2 separate regions of the Homo sapiens genome follow, and region 1 is linked to region 2. Evidence: promoter capture Hi-C in 16 types of primary human blood cells and fetal thymus (Javierre and others, 2016). All regions are on one chromosome and are shown on one strand. The core of a region is centred on a gene start or on the middle of the fragment in contact, and the rest is flanking DNA. Distances in the headings are between cores, read along the strand shown. Region 1 overlaps BCL2L2-PABPN1 (BCL2L2-PABPN1 readthrough). Region 2 holds the start of CBLN3 (cerebellin 3 precursor).

Region 1 (3,848 bases), core at 1,338-3,837, 1.1 Mb before region 2:
TTAAAAAAAAGATATACTGTGGAAGGGGGGAGAATCCCATAACTAACTGCTGAGGAGGGACCTGCTTTGGGGAGTAGGGGAAGGCCCAGGGAGTGGGGCAGGGGGCTGCTTATTCACTCTGGGGATTCGCCATGGACACGTCTCAACTGCGCAAGCTGCTGCCCATGTTTCCCTGCCCCACTTCACCCCCTTGGGGGCTGCTCAAGGGTAGGTGGGCGTGGGTGGTAGGAGGTTTTTTTTTTTACCCAGGGCTCTGGAAGGACACCAAACTGTTCTGCTTGTTACCTTCCCTCCGTCTTCTCCTCGCCTTTCACAGTCCCCTCCTGCCTGCTCCTGTCCAGCCAGGTCTACCACCCACCCCACCCCTCTTCTCCGGCTCCCTGCCCCTCCAGATTGCCTGGTGATCTATTTTGTTTCCTTTTGTGTTTCTTTTTCTGTTTTGAGTGTCTTTCTTTGCAGGTTTCTGTAGCCGGAAGATCTCCGTTCCGCTCCCAGCGGCTCCAGTGTAAATTCCCCTTCCCCCTGGGGAAATGCACTACCTTGTTTTGGGGGGTTTAGGGGTGTTTTTGTTTTTCAGTTGTTTTGTTTTTTTGTTTTTTTTTTTTTTCCTTTGCCTTTTTTCCCTTTTATTTGGAGGGAATGGGAGGAAGTGGGAACAGGGAGGTGGGAGGTGGATTTTGTTTATTTTTTTAGCTCATTTCCAGGGGTGGGAATTTTTTTTTAATATGTGTCATGAATAAAGTTGTTTTTGAAAATAAAAATTGTTTGGCCTTTTGGGTGTAAGGATTATTTATCTTCCTATTCTCTCTTAGATCGCAGATGGCTATTAATTCTGCCTTGTGGTAGAAGTACTGGTGTTGTGGAAGGGAGGTTGCCACTTGTGAATTAAGGAGTAGGAATTACATTACAACTAGCAGGAACATTATGTGTTTAGTTGAGAATGATAGGTTTTCTGGATAACATGTAACCCTGATTGGCATTTGAGAGAGAAATAAGCCTGGGAAAGTAAAAGAATAGCTGAATTGGGCCGGGCATGGTGGCTCACTGCTACAATCCCAGGACTTTGGGAGGCTGAGGTGGGCAGATCACGAGGTCAGGAGATCAAGACCATCTTGGCTAACATGGCGAAACCCCACCTCTACTAAAAATACAGAAAATTAGCCTGACGAGGTGGCGGGTGCCTGTGGTCCCAGCTACTCGGGAGGCTGAGCCAGGAGAATGGCGTGAACCCAGGAGGTGGAGCTTGCAGTGAGCCAAGTTCACACCACTGCACTCCAGCCTGGGTGACAGAGTGAAACTGTCTCAAAATAAAAAAAGGAATAGCCGAATTACTGACCTAATGGCGCTTTTGTGTGCTCCTGATACAGCTTACGTGCAAATGAACTATCCATGCCTGCAGCCCTAGAGCTTTGGATTGGGGTCTGGGTAACCTTGTCTTTGGGGTCTCGCTATGTTGACCAAGCAATCTTCCCATCTTAGCCTCCCAAAGTATTGGGATTACAAGTGTGAACCACTGCACCCAGCTACCTTTTCTACCTCAAGGTGGGCCCAAGAAATGCAGAAGACAAAATACACTTAGCTAAGAGACAATCGGAAAGCTTGTTTTTCCAACCATGCAGTAACCATTTAATGTGTCCAGCTAACTTATATTAATTGGATCATTTATTTTTTTGAGATGGTCTTGCTTTGTCACCCAGGCTGGAGTGCAGTGGCTCACTGCAGCCTCAACCTCCCGGGCTCAAGTGATCCTCCCACCTCAGTGTCCTACATAGCTGTGACTATAGGTGCCTGCCTTCACACTTGGCTAATTTTTTGTAGAGACAGTTTTGCTGTGTTGCCCAGGCTGTCCCAAACTCCTGAGCTCAAGCAGTCCTCCTGGCTTGGCCTTCCTATAGGCGTGAGCCACAGCTCCTGGCCAGGATTAGTTTATTAGGACTTCACAACTGGCTTTCACTGTTTTCATATCTAAATTTTGTCTTGGGCATCCTAATTTCTCCATTTTTTATTCCAGTGTCAGATTGGTCTTAAAACTTGAACACTACATCACTAGCCAGGTTGAACCTTCAGACTTCATTACCTATAGAATTTCTTAGTATTTCAACCTTACTATTTTTTCATTTACTTCTCAGGATGTTTTGTTCACAATTGCCTCTGACCTGGATGCTCTTCAAAAATCATATGTTAAAGAAATGGCTCTGTGGCCGGGCGCAGTGGCTCACACCTGCAGTCTCAGCACTTTGGGAGGCAGAGGTGGGCGGATCACTTGAGGTCAGGAGTTTGAGACCAGCCTGGCCAACATGGTGAAATCCCGTCTCTACTAAAAATACAAAAATTAGCCAGGTGTGGTGGCATGCACCTGTAGTCCCAGCTACTCTGGAGGCTAAGGCAGGAGAATCGTTTGAACATAGGAGGTGGAGATTGAGGTGAGCTGAGACTCAGCCACTGCACTTCCAGCCTGGGTGACAGAGCGAGACTCTGTCTCAAAACAAACAAAACAAAAAACTCTGTTATATCTGAAGCCTTAACCCACCTCTCAAATTGCAGTATTTTCTAAAATCTCATGTCAGTGTTATCCACCACATATTTTAGGATTTGGTCATTTATTCTACTTTCTGTTATGGGTTAGGCATTTGAGGTCTATCTTTTCTCCTAACTAGATTCACCTAAAATAGTGCCGTGATCTCTGTGGCTTCTGCAGAGGCTGATTAGTGAGGGTCTGGATAGTGTTCAATATAAACTTTTTACTGGAAGAATGAAACAGCCTAAGTGACTTGTTGCTGTTAATGCTGTGATGGTCTCATCTGTCCACCAGGGGGCACTAAATGGCTGGCTCTAAAAGATCCCCATAAATTGTTGGGTATTGGAGGGTGAATCATGTTTTGACCCTTCTCTGGTTTAGTTTTCCATATTCAGTCAATTCTACCATATCTTGTCTGTTCTCTCTATTCCTACTTTCACTGCTTGAGTAACTCCCCATCATCATTGCAGGGGTCCTGGCAGATGTATTGGCTTCAAATTTTTTTTTGAAAAATAAAAATTCCTAAAAAAAGTACTTTAAAAGATAGGGTCTCGCTATGTTGGCCAAGTTGATCTTGAACTCTTGGCCTCAAGCAATCCTCCTGCCTCGGCCTCCCAAAGTGCTAGGTTTATAGGCGTAAGCTACCATGCTCAGCCTCCAAACTTCTTATTGCCAAAAAAAGCCCTCTATGATGCCACCAATAAGTACAAAGTCCAAACACAAGCATGGAACTACAACCTTTTTCAATCTGATCCTGATTACATTTCTCTTCCAGATCCTGCCCTACACCTGATGTACTATGCATTGTAGTTGTTATTTATTTTCATGTATCCCTCATGCTGTTCCCTCTAGCCTGCTATGCTCATTCCAACTCTTCTATGAAAATCACGCATATCCTTCCAAGTGTAAGCCAGGTACAACAGACATGAAGCCTTTCCTGATTTCCAAGTCAGAAGTAATCACTCCTGCAGTCAGGACAAACTGTTCCTATCCCTGTTTAATATTTACTTTGTGGTTTTATAATGAAACTAACTACATTTCTGTTTTCCCACTAGAATGCAAGCTTCTTCTTTTTTTTTTTTTTTTTTTTTTTTTTTTTTTTGAGACGGAGTCTCGCTCTGTCGCCCAGGCTGGCCTGCGGACTGCAGTGGCGGGATCTCGGCTCACTGCAAGCTCCGCTTCCCGGGTTCACGCCATTCTCCTGCCTCAGCCTCCCGAGTAGCTGGGACTACAGGCGCCCGCCACCGCGCCCGGCTAATTTTTTGTATTTTTAGTAGAGACGGGGTTTCACCTTGTTAGCCAGGATGGTCTCGATCTCCTGACCTCATGA
Region 2 (3,434 bases), core at 935-3,434:
AGGCCGCAAAGTAGTGCAGATCTTCCTTCTTGCCAAACCTTGCCCTGATCCTAGGGCTGCAGGCAGGAACAGATGCAGCAGGTGGCTGGGAGGGTAACTGGGGGTGGGTGGGTGGAAAGGCCTGGTCTGGAGATGCCACAGCTCTACTCTTCTCTTAAACTTGGGTGTTTGGCACAGGGTCCCATGCAAAGAGGTGGGATAGGAGCCAGAGGGAGTCTCTCTCCTGCCTCTGCTGTTTCTGGGGCAAGAGAGGGCAGAAGAAAGTTGTCAGGGGCTGGATTCTTGTGCTTGAAAGACTTGGGTCCTCAGAGAGGGAAGATGAGGAAGCCAGAGAAACTTGAGTATTTCCAACCACCCAGTAGATTCCCCCGACGCAGGCGCAGAGACACTCGGTCCCCAGGGTCCAAGGGCAGTAGCACAGAGCTGGTGGCTGCCTCCCGGGTCACGTCAGGATCATTGGCAAAGGCTGAGATGACAGGCCACGTGTTCAGCATCAGGCTCACCTGGGGAGGGGAGCCCAGTTAGCCCCCATTCCCCAGCCCTTAGCTCAGGACCCCCCACTTTCCCAGGAGCTTCCTCTTGGGAAGCTGGGTTTTAATGGGCTCTCCCGGGAGGGCTGAGGGGCGGCCAGCATTGGACTCTGCACATCCTCCACACTCAATGCAAGGCAGGCCCATTCCTCCCCTGGTCCTGGCCTCCAGGACACAGGTCAATGGAGAGTCCACCCGGAGGTCAGCTGGGCTCCCCTTCTTCCCCCTCCCCACCCTCCTGAGCCGGGGATGGGGGCCAGTGCTGAGGTCACCTGGACAGTTTGGCGGTTGTACACCTTCACCACATGGAACCGGAAGCTGTAGACACCCCGGACAGGGGCTACGAAGGAGCCAGAGGCCCGGTCAAAGCCACCGCCCTCGTTCACCAGGACCTGGGGGAAGCAGAGCCTGCTGAGTGGGGCTCAGGAAATGCCCATGGCTCAGGGGTACCATGGGGACTAGGGGCAGGGGCAGTGAGTAATGAATAGAAGGAGTGGCAAGTAGGAGTGAATAGGAGTGAACAGATTCAAAAGAAATGGTGAGAAGGGGCAAGGAGAGGGCTGCGTATGGGTGGAGGGAGGGGAAACCGTCGGTGGGGTGGTGGGGCAATAGGCCAGATTAGTGAAAGATGTAGGAAGCTGTTTTCTTAAAGCCTCAGAGACAGCAAAGTGGGCTTGGACAGTTGCTTCCAGGTCCTTGCAGGGTCTTTCCAGGTCCCCTGGACAGGGGTAGGGGGATTACCTGGTCGAAGTAGATGGCCCCACTGGTGCCATTGCCGGTTTCCCCTGCTGGCTCATGGTGGTGGCTTCGGACCGCAGCAAATGCCACTCGCCCAGGGGGTGCCTCTCCCAGGGCTGCTCCCCCGGGCCCCCCTGCAGCAGCTCGGCCAGGCTCACAGACCACCAGGCACTCCCCCTCCAGCAGGACGGGCTCTGACCCCTCCTGGGCCCACCCGGCCCCCAGGGCCAGAAGCACCAGAACCAAGGGCAGCCCGGGACTGTGTAGGGGACCTGGTAGCCAGTGTGGCTTGGCTCCCAACATGGCTGAGGGGCTCTGCAACCCACAAGTGCCCCGGTCTTCTGCCCCTCTTCTGTTTCCGCTCCTCTCCCTGGATTCTCACCGCCGGCACCCTGATCGTCTGCCCTCTCTAGGCTCGCTGAACCCCCTCTCCATACCTGTGTCCCAGCTCTGTCCTGCCTCCCACTCTTACTCCTGCTGTCACTGCAGTTCCCTCCTCCTTGGCAGAGCATGCAGTGACAGCAGTTGGGCTTTGGGAGAGAAAGGAGGGATGAAGCCGCCTGCCCACTGGACGGGAGGGCTGCAGCCAGAGCTTCAGGGCAGCCCTGCTGGATGGGACAGCACTGAGGGCTGGACCTGGGGGGATGGAGAACATGGTATGTGTGTGTGACGGGTGTGACAGAATGTGTGAGTGTGTGCATATGCCAGAGGCAGCCCCTCAACCCCTTCCTCCTACTCTTCCTCTCTTCAAAATCCCCCACAAATCAACAGCCCTTCTTCGTGGCATCTTTCCGTTTGTTGGAAGAAAGGGGTACTCCACCACGGGTACCCTCCGCCTCCCGCCTCCCGCCTACCCCCTCCGCCACGATTGCTTTGGTGGAAAGTGCTTGGGCCTAGAGCACCAGTGGGCCAGTCACGCTGCCTCTTTGGTCGGCCACATCTTTATTCGCGGGAAACAACTTTCAACGCATGGTTCCCCTTTCCGAGAAGTAACTGCGCAGAATGCGCGAGGACCCTGAGGGCCGGGAGACAGACGGGAGGGCTGGTGAGAAGCGCAAGGGGCGAGCCCTGGAGCCGCCGAGGGGACTAGGCCGAGCGGGCCCGTCGGGGCCTCTGGGCGCGGCGGCGGGGTTGGGAGGAGGGCGCGCAGCCGGGAGGAGCTGGGCTGACTCCGCCCCAGGCCAGGAAGTGACTCAAGAAACAGTTTGCGTGCGATGTGGACAAGAGAGGTCCCCGCTGGGTGAGGAACCCGGGAAGGCCCGCCCAGATTCGGGCCCCCTGCCCTTGTCCCCTGGGCTGGGGGCGCGGGCAAAGCGGGGGCCTGGCGGGCGCTGAGAGGACCTGAAGCCGGCGCGGGCGGCGGAGGCGGTAGGCGCGCCCCTCCACCGCGCCCGGGAGCGGGGAGCGGGGGCCGCGGTGCGGAGTAGGCCCGGCCCGGGGTGGCTGCCCCAGTCCGCGGTGGGCGGGCCCGGCCCGGCCCGGCCCCTGGGCCCTGGGCGGTGCTCCTGGCCCGACGGAGAGGGGCAGCGGACGGCTGGGGGAGGGGTGGGAGTGGCTTGAACCTTGGAAATGGCAGACCAGGGCCCCCAGAGGACAGCCTAGTTCAATCCCCTGCTGAGGATTCGTCCTTAAGAAGCTTCAGAGTGCCCCAGGAGACTCCTTCTGGCCTCCAGGCCGAGCTGGAGCCCCCCCACCCTTCTTGCTCCGGACTGTGGTCATCCTTTTCCAAAGCCCAGACGCCCACTCTCGATAGACAGCCTTGTTTACCGGGACTTCCTCTCCGGAGAGGCCTGCGTGACATACACCCTCCCTACCTCCAGTGGACTCAGATGCTTGTCACCTCCTGGGGCTGTTTACCAGAGCCTTAACTAGGTGCGACCTGTTGATAGCTGGTGTAGTCCCAGGAACCAGGATTTGGATGGAGGGTACAATGAGGCTCTGAGCTGCCTTCTCCCCTTCCAGGGCTGGGGGCAGCAGCCATGCCTACCTGGGGGGCCCGCCCCGCGTCCCCAGATCGCTTTGCGGTGTCTGCGGAGGCTGAGAACAAGGTTCGGGAACAGCAGCCCCATGTGGAGCGCATCTTCAGCGTGGGGGTGAGCGTCCTTCCGAAGGACTGTCCGGACAACCCCCACATCTGGCTGCAGCTGGAGGGCCCCAAGGAAAACG

What was found. Contacts are between HindIII fragments. The CHiCAGO score rates a contact against its expected background, and 5 or more counts as called.
Region 1: a fragment that was not itself captured here is called in contact with the fragment with the promoter of CBLN3 in region 2 in 1 of 17 cell types (naive B cells); the score reaches 5.1 in naive B cells.

What each region holds. Positions count from the first base shown.
Region 1 is chr14:23,325,403-23,329,250 of GRCh38, forward strand. It overlaps BCL2L2-PABPN1 (BCL2L2-PABPN1 readthrough), which reads left to right. Exons shown (of 8, transcript NM_001387346.1): 8 at 1-761. PABPN1 (poly(A) binding protein nuclear 1) reads left to right here. Exons shown (of 7, transcript NM_004643.4): 7 at 1-761. Among named protein-coding and RNA genes, the nearest start is that of PABPN1, 5.9 kb to the left of the region's middle. RefSeq lists a silencer at 2,791-2,880. The HindIII fragment of the contact is 1,983 bases long and covers 1,597-3,579 here.
Region 2 is chr14:24,427,484-24,430,917 of GRCh38, forward strand. CBLN3 (cerebellin 3 precursor) reads right to left here and starts at 2,185. Exons shown (of 3, transcript NM_001039771.3): 1 at 1,272-2,185; 2 at 803-922; 3 at 1-503. The coding sequence starts at 1,571. The coding sequence ends at 306. It overlaps KHNYN (KH and NYN domain containing), which reads left to right and starts at 2,471. Exons shown (of 8, transcript NM_015299.3): 1 at 2,471-2,636; 2 at 3,231-3,434. The coding sequence starts at 3,248. RefSeq lists a silencer at 2,308-2,847 and enhancers at 2,878-3,057, 3,202-3,434. The HindIII fragment of the contact is 4,979 bases long and covers 1-2,902 here.